4 separate regions of the Homo sapiens genome follow, and regions 1, 3 and 4 are each linked to region 2. Evidence: promoter capture Hi-C in 16 types of primary human blood cells and fetal thymus (Javierre and others, 2016). All regions are on one chromosome and are shown on one strand. Each heading gives the region's core, a stretch centred on a gene start or on the middle of the fragment in contact. The rest is flanking DNA. Distances are from core to core; before and after follow the strand shown. Region 1 has its middle 56 kb from the start of SLC25A52. Region 2 holds the start of B4GALT6 (beta-1,4-galactosyltransferase 6). Region 3 overlaps DSG2-AS1 (DSG2 antisense RNA 1). Region 4 overlaps DSG2 (desmoglein 2).

What was found. Contacts are between HindIII fragments. The CHiCAGO score rates a contact against its expected background, and 5 or more counts as called.
Region 1: a fragment that was not itself captured here is called in contact with the fragment with the promoter of B4GALT6 in region 2 in 1 of 17 cell types (M0 macrophages); the score reaches 6.2 in M0 macrophages.
Region 3: a contact is called between a fragment that was not itself captured here and the fragment with the promoter of B4GALT6 in region 2, in 1 of 17 cell types (M0 macrophages). The highest score is 7.2, in M0 macrophages.
Region 4: a fragment that was not itself captured here is called in contact with the fragment with the promoter of B4GALT6 in region 2 in 1 of 17 cell types (fetal thymus); the score reaches 5.2 in fetal thymus.

What each region holds. Positions count from the first base shown.
Region 1 is chr18:31,815,975-31,818,716 of GRCh38, reverse strand. No RefSeq gene overlaps it. Among named protein-coding and RNA genes, the nearest start is that of SLC25A52, 56 kb to the right of the region's middle. The HindIII fragment of the contact is 512 bases long and covers 1,083-1,594 here.
Region 2 is chr18:31,683,302-31,686,088 of GRCh38, reverse strand. It overlaps B4GALT6 (beta-1,4-galactosyltransferase 6), which reads left to right and starts at 1,508. Exons shown (of 9, transcript NM_004775.5): 1 at 1,508-1,777. The coding sequence starts at 1,663. RefSeq lists a silencer at 372-1,411. The HindIII fragment of the contact is 10,803 bases long and covers 1-2,787 here.
Region 3 is chr18:31,549,320-31,552,310 of GRCh38, reverse strand. DSG2-AS1 (DSG2 antisense RNA 1) reads left to right here. Exons shown (of 6, transcript NR_045216.1): 3 at 1,952-2,273. Among named protein-coding and RNA genes, the nearest start is that of DSG2-AS1, 6.1 kb to the left of the region's middle. The HindIII fragment of the contact is 2,055 bases long and covers 363-2,417 here.
Region 4 is chr18:31,500,638-31,503,569 of GRCh38, reverse strand. All of the region lies in intron 1 of DSG2 (desmoglein 2), which reads right to left. Among named protein-coding and RNA genes, the nearest start is that of DSG2, 3.9 kb to the right of the region's middle. The HindIII fragment of the contact is 1,692 bases long and covers 564-2,255 here.

The sequences.
Region 1 (2,742 bases), core at 89-2,588, 130 kb before region 2:
CCATGTGTCAAGGGAGAGACCAGGTGGAGGTAATTGAATCACAGGGGCAGTTTCCCCCATGCTGTTCTTGTGATAGTGAGTGAGTTCCCATAAGATCTGATGGTTTTATAAGTGTTCGGTAGTTCCTCCTGCGTTCATTCTCCCTCCTGTTGCCTTGTGAAGAAGGTGCCTTGCTTCCCCTTCACCTTCCACCACGACTGTAAGTTTCCTGAGGCCTCACCAGTCGTGCAGAACTGTGAGTCAATTAAACCTCTTTCCTTTATAATTTACCCAGTCTCGGGGATTTCTTTACAGCAGTGTGAAAACAGACTAATACAGGCTGTCATCTCTGCAAACAAGATTGCCTTGGAACAGCTAGTATTGAAAGGTTCCTAAATCACACTACCCAGCTTTCAATCCATGGCTTTCCTCCTTACCAAATATAAGACTTTGGGGCAGTAACTTAACCAGCCATCTGAGTTTTTTCATCTGTATAGTGTAGCAACAATAATTCCTATTTCAATGGGTCGTTTTGACGATCGGCTGACCTAATTCCATACATTTCTTAGCTCAGTGACTGACAGTAATAAGTTCTCAAAAAATGTATCATTTTAAAACATGATTTACTTAAATTCCATTTGAACTTCGTAAGTCCCTCTGTAAGTCCCTCTAATAGATGTGATTTCAAATGGCTGTATGAAACCTAAATAATTCAAACTTAATTATAATTTTTAGAAGCCTAAAAATTATGTTGAGCCTTAAAGGAAATGTGACTGTGTGGTCTGAGCACATGCATGTGGCTGCAATTTCTGCTTCTCAGGTTATAGATTCATTCTTTCTCGTTGTTCTTGTTCTGCAAATCAATTAGGAAAGACTAAATGGTGCCAGACATAAGACCTCCCCCTCCTGATGATGGCTAGCCTTTCCTCCTTTATTATCTTGCATCTAACTCAGATCAGATGGTGCGGAAGACTCCATGATTGTTATATCCTCAATGTGGAATGTTAAATATACCTTTCCCAAAAAGAACACCACCTCAATTAATCAGATTACTGTAACTGTGTGCTAGCCTTGTGTGGAAAATGTTGAAACATTGTTAAGCTTCCCAAACCTTATTTATATAAATGACCCCCAAAACTTCTCCACTTTGGAGCACTGGCTTCCATTCTTTGGAATCTGTGTTCCTGGATGCCTATCCTTAAAATTTGTGCTTGACTAAATGCTATATTTAACCATATTTCTTGAATCTCTTTAAGGTCGACACTCTATAGCAACCACCGCACTATTTTAAGTTACCAATTCTGTTCAAGATTCTAGGCTTTATTTTGATTGTAAACTTGGGGCTTGGCACATCAACTGTGAGATTTGTTTCTTTCATATCATTCCTTAATACTTAGAACAATGCAGGACACATACTAGAAATTCTTGTTGAATTGAATAGAAGAAATGAACTGATGAATGAGATATTGGGTACCATAACTCTTTTGACCAATGCCCTCTGATCACTTTAAATCTCAAGAAGAGCCTCAATTTCAATAATTAAAATTTCCAAGAACTTTAATAACCAGCATTCTGAATTTCATAAAGTTAACATTGGCTTCTCTCCTGGGAAGCTTTCAGTTTGGGAGGAAGATGGCCAACTTCTCCATTTTTCTACTGTGTGCTTCTCCTTCCTGTGTTAATATACTTGGCTGACTCTGAATCTTCCAGAATTTGGTAAAAGTACCTAAGTAGGAGTAGCAAGGGTGTAGGAACGCCTTACCTCACCGGTACTGTGATAACCTGGCATTGATGGTCTCTGGGCACCAGGGAATGTTTTGTGGGTTCTTGAGAGATCTCCCATTACTGGGAATCTTCCACAAGGTGGAAGCCATGTGTCGATGATAGAGCAACAATTTAGTAGAAGCCCATCGTCCCGATGATTGTGGAGTCTACATAGTTGCCTGGGACTGTCTATCTGGACTTTTGTGCAAAAGAAGTAAAGTTTAATTTTATTAAACCTATTGATTTTTTTTGCTGAACATACCCTAACTAATAAAACTATGTTGCCATTGCCAGTAAGGTGTGTTGTCCCCTCTGAGTGTTTAAGATCCTAGCAGGAAGCCATGTTGTTCATCATGTTATACCTATGGATTTTGTGCAGTGCCTGGGCATAGACTATATGTTCAAAAATATTTGTTTGATGAATAGATCAACCTGATATTTTTATAGGGGCAGGCTGGTTTGATGTGCCACATTTTATTATTGAAACCCAATTTTTAATACAGCAGTTAATTTGGCTGAGTTTAGTATTGTTATTGTTGACCACTTATCCCCTCAATTCTCGTCTCTCGGAGTCATTTTTTTTTTTAATACTTTAAGTTCTGGGTACATGTGCAGAACGTGCAGGTTTGTTACATAGGTATACATGTGCCATGGTGGTTTGCTGCACCCATCAACTCCTCATCTACATTAGGTATTTCTCCTAATGCTATCCCTTCCCTTGCCCCCAACCTTGCCCTGGGGGAACGCCCCAGTGTGTGACGTTCCCCTCCCTGTGTCCGTGTGTTCTCATTGTTCAACTCCCACTTATGAGTGAGAACATGCAGTGTTTGGTTTTCTGTTCCTGTGTTAGTTTGCTGAGAATGATGGTTTCCAGCTTCATCTGTATCCCTGCAAAGGACATGAACTCATTCTTTTTTATGGCTGTATAGTATTCCATGGTGTATATGTGCCACATTTTCTTTATCCAGTCTATCGTTGATGGGCATTTGTCCCAGAATC
Region 2 (2,787 bases), core at 259-2,758:
AAACATTTGAACGAAGGGTAGACCACGGCCTAGGAGGTGGATGAAGACACCCGTCCGTTTGCCTACTGAAGCAAGATGGGGCTGAGGCGCTCAAGGGCCTATTGGCTGCCCAGAAGCCTTTGCAGCGCCGCCTGAATACAGCGAGGATGACCCAGGGTTCACCTTCAGCGTTGAAGGCAAGTCCTGGTATAAGGGACGCACATAGGTCCGCGCCACATCCTGACACTGTTTCCACAGGAAGTGCGGGATAGGAGGGGGGATTCATTAATCCAGGTCGGAAATACACCTTGTTCCTCGAGGATTTTGGAAGGAAATTCCACCCGCGAAGTCCCCTTTTGGAGATGCCCTTTTCCTTTCAGGTACAGCATCCTTCATTATGTACCCCCAGGGTACAATGTATCCGGGGCTCGCAACGCGTCCCTCAACCCCCAGCAGCGCGGTCACCGCGGGGTCCCCGGGCGGGCGGGGGCGGCGGTGACGCAGGAGGCGGTGGGGCCCCGGTGCGGCGGGCGCGGGGAGGGGGCTGCTGGGCGCGGGCCTATCAGGACGCGCGGTGTTTCGGGCGCGGGGAGGGCGGGGACCTCCAGGTTTCCTCGGGGCCCGGCGCAGCGCCGCCTGCCGAGTTCCGAGCGAGCGCGCGAAGCGCGCAGGGGTCTCGAGACGTTCCCGCCGGTCCCGGTTTTCCTCCGCGGCTCCCCCGCCCCTTCACGTCCGCCTCTTTCTCCAACCAGACGCGGCTCCGACGGCGCTCGGCCTCTGCTCTTCCGGCTCCCCGGCTCTGCCCGCAGCGCGCGTCGCCCGGTTGCTCTTCGCCTGGTGTCCGCGGGCCCGGCGGGGGCGCCTCACCCCGGGCGCGCGGCGGTAATGCCGCTGCCGCCCTTGCGGCCAGGCAGGCAGCTGGCGGCGGCCGGAGTCGGAGCGCGTTCGTCGCTGGCCGGGACGCCGCCCTGGCCTGTGCTCAGCTCCCGCGGCGGCCGCGGGGCGCCGGGGCCCGGCGCGGCATGAGGAGGCGGCTCGGTGCAGGCGAGCGCCCAGCTCCTCGGCCCCGAGGGCCCCCGCGGGCCCCCGCGCGTGGCGCGCGCTGGTTGCGGCCCCGGCGCCCACGCTAGCCCCGCGCAGGCAGGAGACGCCGCGGCCCGGAGTAGGAGGCGGCGCAGGGCCTGCCGAGCGGACGCGGGCGGCCCGGACCTTAAGCACGGGGCTTCGCGGCGGGACCCCGCCGGGCGCGGGCAGCGGAGCCGGGCGTGCTGCAGTTAGCTGCCCCTCTCCGCAGGGGCGCCGCGGCGCGCAGCCTGCGCCTCCTCCCACCTGCAGCCCCTCCTCCCGCCGCTGCTTGGCGGAGAAAACGCTCCTCCTCGCCCTTCCCCGGCTTTCTTCCGTCCTGCCGTCCCCGGGCCCCTAGCCCCCAGTCCCCTCTCCCCCCTCCACCTCTTGTCCCTCGGCCTCCGCGCCTCCCCTCCCCCGACTCTCTGGCCTCCCATTCATTCCGTCCGCTCCCTCCCATTTCCTCTTTTCCGCTCGGGCCCTCTCCCCAGAGCCTCCCCGCGCGGACCCCGCTGCAGTCTCGGGGTTCTCAGCACATTTATGGAAGTTTAGGGCCTGGACAGTGGCCCCGAGTCCGGCCTGAGAGCGCAGCCTGGGCTGCTGGCAGGGAAGAGGAAGATGTCTGTGCTCAGGCGGATGATGCGGGTTTCCAATCGCTCTCTCCTCGCCTTCATCTTCTTCTTCTCCCTCTCTTCGTCCTGTCTGTACTTCATCTATGTGGCCCCAGGCATCGGTAAGCACCGAGACACACCCTCGCTTCCCCTGGTCACACCACAGCCAGCGCAGGCTGTTATCCGATGTTACTTCTGGGATTTGGAAGCTGTTCAAACAGGGGCCCGCAGAAAAGCGTTTTGTTTTAAATGTTATTTCAGACGTGTCAAACTGCTTCAGGGCATGGCTTTGGTATGTGAGTTTTGTTAATGCATGCATTTTGTTAATGCATGTTTGTTAATAACGTAAAAGATTGCATTAAATAGACGTAGCAAAATTAGTGTGATGGCCCGGGATGCCCTAGTCGCTTTCTTGAGTGTTCATGACAGCTTTATCCATTTAATGTTAAGTCTTTAAGCCTAAACTGAGTGCTTAATCGTAGTTTTATTCAAACACTCTCGGGTATAATAACTGGTTGTAAAAATATGGAGGAGCCAGCAGCAGGGAATGTGATTGAGTCCAACAATGTGTGTTTTCTAGGGTCCTAGGTCGCTTTTTTAGAATGGGGTCAGTGGACCCCATTCTTTTTGTGCCATACTTGGGGAATTTTAAGGCGATGAGTTGTCTTGTAAAAACAATGCTCCATTATTTTAGTCTGCTTGGGTGTTATTTTCAAGGGTACGTTGCCTTTGCTACCTGTTAGGATGACTTCTGAGAAAATAGTGATTAAAATAACCGTTATCTAAGGGAACTTGTAGTTTAAAATGTTAACCGGTTTATCATTTTTTGGCCTTTGGTGCAAAATACACTTTTGTAAAACTGCTTGAATTAACTTCTTTATTAAATATCCGAATTCCTCGTCCCCCATTTGTTGAAAAGGAGCCAATGCGGCGTTAATTCTAGTGAATGAGAATTATGAACTTCACATGCATATTAAAATATGTCATATTTCCAAAACTTTTCTGAGTTTTTCCTGGCTATTACGTATTTAATGTTCAATTACTTAGTAACAGTGAGCATCTCCTCTCATTTCTCCTTACACACTGTGGTCGTTTGAGCCAGTGCTCTTTGTTCCGAGTTAGCTAAAAATGT
Region 3 (2,991 bases), core at 141-2,640, 130 kb after region 2:
TGGGATTACAGGCGTGAGCCCCTGTGCCCGGCCCGCAGTTTCTTTAGGAGCTACCTGTGATGTGCCTCACCTTCAGGGTTTAATGCTTATTCAATGATGACACTGTTTTCTTTCTCCTTTACTTTGTGGAAAGGTTTTTTAGGTTGAGAGGAAATTTTGTTGTTAGTTATATTTCCTCAGTAAGAGCAACCAATTAAAAAGTAAACACAAGCGGGTGTAGGTGAAAGGTCAACAGAGGTGCTACAGTGGAATCCTAAAGCATGCAGTACACAAAAGAAGTCAGGAAACAAGAGTGGAGAAAACCAAAAAACCAACAGAAAACCCAGGTGGACAAAGATAAAACAAATACAAAGATGGAAGCTTAAACTTATCCATATAAATAATTGTTGTAAAACCTTCTGATAAAAGTCAGAAATTGTCAAAATGGGAAAAGCCAAGACCTACCTGTATATTGTTTACAATAAATGTACTATAAAGGCACAGACAGGTGTCAAGCAAAAGGATCAAAAAGATATACCACGGAAGCACTAACCATAAGAAGGCTGGTATGGCTGTATTAATGTTAGGCAAGGTAGATTTCAAGACAAAGAATGTGTTAGAAGAAAAACTTCAGGCAAATTAAATTTTACAAAGTTGGCTGGGTGTGGTGGCTCACGCCTGTAATCCCAGCAGTTTAGGAGGCTGAGGCTGGTGGATCACTTGAGGCCAGGAGTTCGAGACCAGCCTGGGCAACATGGGGAAACCCCATCTCTACTAAAAAAAAAAAAAAAAAAAAAAATGCAAAAATTAGCCTGGTGTGGTGGCGTACACCTGTAATCCCAGCCCAGCTACTCAGGAGGCTGAGGAGAATCACTTGACCCTGGGAGGCGGAGGTTGCAGTGAGCGGAGATTCTGCCACTGCGCTCCAGCCTGGGTGACAGAGTGAGACTCCATCTCCAAAATAATAAAATAAATAAATATATAAACAAATTTTACAAACTTTAATTGAGCAAAGAATAATTTGCAAATTGGGCAGTACCTAAACCGGAGTAGATTCAGAGCCACGCTGGTGCTGCCACGTGGTCAGAGAGGATTTATGGATAGAAAAAGGAAGTGAGGTACAGAATAGCAGGACTGGTTACAGCTCAGGGTTTGCCTTATTTGAATGCAGTTTGAACAGTTGGCTGCCTGTGAGTGGTTGAAGTATTGCGGCCGTGATTGCCTCAGACAAGAGTAGGTTACAGTCTGTTTACACATCCAGTTAGGTTATAGTTCACTAAGTATGGAGAAACCTTCAGGCCAAACTTAAAATATGTAACAAGGGCCAGGTGTGGTAATTCACGCCTGTAATCCCAGCACTTTGGGAGGCCAAGGCAGGCGGATCACCCGAGGTCGGGAGTTTGAGACCTGCCTGACCAATATGGAGAAACCCCGTCTCTATTAAAAATACAAAATTAGCTGGGCGTGGTGGCGCATGCCTGTAACCCCAGCTACTTGGGAGGGTGAGGCAGGAGAATCATTTGAACCTGGGAGGCGGAGGTTGTGGTGAGCCGAGTTTGCGCCATTTCACTCACTTGAAACTCCGTCTCAAAAAAAAAAAAAAAAAAAAAGGAAAAGAATGTAAGGAGGCAGCTTTAGGCTAAAGGTAATTAGCAGTTATAAACAGAGATGAAGAGAGGCATTTCATAATGATAAAAAGATCAGTTCTTCAGGAACACAGTAATCCTAAATGTACTTGTACCTAATAACACAGGCAAAAAGTTTCAAAACACAGGAAACAAAAATAGAAAGAATTAAAGGGGGAAATAAGCAAAGCCACACTTGGGAGACTTCAACCTCTTAGTAATTAATGGAAACAGTAGACAAAGTAATTGGGAATGATATAGAGGATTAAAATAAAACATAATGAAACTAATAAATTTTGGTCCTTTAAGAAAGTCAGATTTAATGATCTGAAATGTCTCATTTTTAGGTGATATTTGGTTAGCAACGTCCTACTGTAGACATTTTGATGTGGTGGTGATTGGAATATGGTCTGCAGAGATCAACCAGAATTAGCTCCATGTGCCACTGGGAGTGGGAACTGAAGTCACGCAGGAATAAACCAGTCTTCATGCTTTAGGATGTTCTGATGTGCCATTGTCGTGAAATCTTCATTCATGAGACATTCCAGTTTACCGGCAGTGTCGACTAGAATATGCTACAGCCCCCAAAATACGTTTTTAGTATAAGGATTATTTTGAGCTGATTATTTTGAGAAATAGCAGACGCAGGAGAAACTCTGAAGACAGAACGTAAGTTTACCTTTTGTAAAGGGATTTACATTTATAAGGGAAATGTCCATTTGTAAGGCTGTCTCCCTCCGTACCGGAAACACGGGATGACTATAAGTGACAAAGAGATTAATTTAAATCTGCATGACAAATCTTACTCAAGCTTACCAGACTTTTCCTGGTCACCTTCCCATAACTTGTTTCCCCTGCCCAGAAGCCCCTAATCCCCTTTCCTATGTTTTAGCCCAAGTTGGTATATTATTAAATTAAACTGGGCCTGAGGCTGCCTCCATACCTTGAGTCCCCACATGACGAACTGCAGCCTAGCTTGGTACATAAATGAACTGAAAGCCTAATTTAGGAGTATATTTTTGTAATACATAGCTGAGCGTCAATCAATCACAGCAGCTGAGTTTCAGCCAGTCACTGGCTGCCAACTGATCAGCCCACCTCCAAATAAGGCAAAGGCTCAGCTGTAACCAATCAAGCAGCTTCCCTACCTCACTTCCATTTTCTGTCTATGAATACGGCCTGCTCATTATTGTAGAATAGAGTTCTCCGAACCTTTTCTAGTTCCAGGGCAGCCCAATTTTGTGAACCTTTCTTTGCTTAAGTAAACTGTTAGATTTAATTTGTTTAAAGCTCTTCTTTTAACATTTTACACCCAAGTTCTAACCACCCCTTTGAGCTGCTCATTCCAGTTACTCCAAAGCATGCATGAGATACACATGTTAACAGA
Region 4 (2,932 bases), core at 160-2,659, 180 kb after region 2:
TACCTCCCTGAAAACACTTCCTTGGCAAGTAGCTTTTCTGGGCTTCTGTTGGCTTGAAGGCCTATCTTCCTATACATTCTTCTGCCTCACTTTCTAAGTTCAAGCAACAATGAATGTTTAGGTTCCTCTGCAGAACCATGAACTATCATTTTCAGGCCTTTTAGATGCTCTTCTCTCTACCTAGAATCTATTTCTCTTCATATCATCTCACTAATTTATAATTATTCTCAGATACCAGCTGGGATACCCAGTGCTGAGATAGTTGCTCCTTCTATAGGCTCCATGGTACTACGTTTCTCTATTATTACTCTTCTTATCGTTACCCATTTGGAAGTTAGCCATTTACTTGTTATACCATTCATTAGACTGTAAGCACCATGAGGGCAGAACATGTCTGGCTTTTTTATAGTTCTCCAGTGTTTAGCACATTGCCTAGCATCAAGCAGGGATTCACTAAATAGGGGTCATGTGTCTGGTTTCTTTTCTTATGGACATTTCTCATCTCACTATCGACCACGGTAGGAATTCTGTTGTTCCAGCTTCTTCACTCTAATCACCAAGCTTTGCATATGACAAAAACTTAATAAAAAACAAAACTGAGAAGATAGTTTCTCATCATATGTAGACTATATGTTTATAAATTGTTGTCAAAGCTATTGAAATCTGTGTCAGAGTGAAAGACAAGGGAAAAAAGCTGTGATTAAAAATTGCTCAAATAGATCTAAAAGTCCTTTATGCTTTCAGTTAAAGTTCCTTCCTTCCTTTCTTCCTTCCTCCCTCCCTCCCTTCCTTTCTTCCCTCCTTCCTTCCTTCTTTTTTTTGACAGAGTCTCCCTCTGTCACCCAGGCTGGAGTGCAGTGGCACAATCTCGGCTCACTGCAACCTCCGCCTTCCAGGTTCAAGCGATTCTCCTGCCTCAGCCTCCTGAGTAGCTGGGACTACAGGCATGTGCCACCACACCCAGCTAATTTTTTGTATTTTTAGTCGAGATGGGGTTTCACCATGCTGGCCAGGCTGGTCTCAAACTCCTGACCTCAGGTGATCCGCCCACCTTGGCCTCCCAAAGTGCTGGGATTACAGGCGTGAGCCACTGTGCCCAGCCTAAAGTTTCTAATTTTAAATATAATTTGGCAGTTTTCAAAAACACTTATCCCTATTCAATGTGTAATTTTTCCCATGTAAATTTTTCTATGTCATAAATATAGATTTTTTTGCAAAATATAGACCAGTAATTCTCACGCTTACACTTGTCTGACAATTAGATCAATTGGGAAGTTTCTATAAATACATATTTATATTGTAGTGAGCCCGCCCCAGGGCTCACTACACTCACACACCACAGAATATTAGCCTTGGAAACTTTAATTTAGCTTATCGGGGATTTCTAATAATCAGAGAGTACGTAGGCCAATGAATGCTCATATCTCTTTGTAAAGTACTTGCCTTAAGTTATAATTAAAGAAAATTTCTGTTAAGAGCTGCCATTTTCCCATTACCTACTAACTTTTAGAAACAAAAACCAGTAAGAAATCCATGTTTCTAAAATCCTTGGATATGATAATTGATTATTCTTATGGCTTCAATATTCACCATCTAATTTATACTTTAATGTATTCTTTAATATATATTATTCAGTTGTATATTAGAACACTAAGCATAACTCTGATATTATTGATAATTTATAGATACTTGAATCCACTTGTTATGGATCAAATTATGACCCCTAAAAGATAATATATTGAAGTGCTAACCACCAGTACCTCAGAATGTGAGCTTATTTGGAAATAGGGTCTCTGCAGATTTAACCAAGCTGAGGTCATTATTTTGGGGCATAATCCAGTACAACCGATGTTCTTATAAAATGGGGAAATTTGGACAAGGACACAGACATGCACAGAGGGAAGATGATATAAAGAGACAAAAGAGAGAATGCCATGCGCAGATGGAGGATTGGAGTAATGAATGCACCTACAAGAGAAGGAATGACAAAGATTGCCAACAAACCAGTATGCACTTGGAAGAGGAAAGGAGGGAAACTGGTTTCAGAGGGAGCATGGCCCTGCCCATATCTTGATTTTGGATTTCTAGCCTCTGGAACTGTGAGATCATACATTTTTGTTGTTTTAAGCCACTCAGTTTTTAGCACTTCGTTACAGCAGTCCTAGCAAACTAATACCCTACTAAATATATCTGCTCACAGTGTGATCTGCTATCATTGAATCCTTAAAATGTAGTTTGATTTTAAAGCACAAGCTTCATTAGTCGAACCCAAAATTGAAGCAACCATCAGGAAATCTCTCACCCACGAGCCCTCCTTGGCAATCTGGCGAGGCCTATGAACCCCTTCTCAGATTAATGATTTCAAATGTATAAAATAAAATACAGGGGATTATCAATGAACCCAATTATATTGAAATAGTTATCAGCATTTTTAAAATACCAATTTGTGATGCAGCAGTATCATGTATTTTATTAACATATTAAGTAAAAGATCTAGTAGAAAGTCTATTAGTGATGTTCAGAATAAATGGTATTTTGAGATCACCATAAGATGTAAAGGTATTTATGAATTCTATTGTGATAGTCACAGCTACTGCTCACACTACTGTGCAGTGTCTTCCCCACACTCATAATTTAAAGAAATACTAAATTTCAGTCCGAAGTTAGTTAAAATATATATGTAATTAATTCCTTGCCATCTCTAGGAACTCTTTGAATTCTATCTGTGAACCATTTGGGAGTTGATGGATTGCAAAGAACCCTTGAAGAGGAAATATTCTCTGATTTTATTCAGAAAATTATTTCTTTTTCCCATTTTGATACAGCTGGCCTAAATGTTTGATAGCTATGTGGGTGACACAGCTACCTTCTGGTGTGTCTCCCTGCACTGCTGAGGAAAGCGAAAGACCATGTGTCACAGACTCCACTGCAG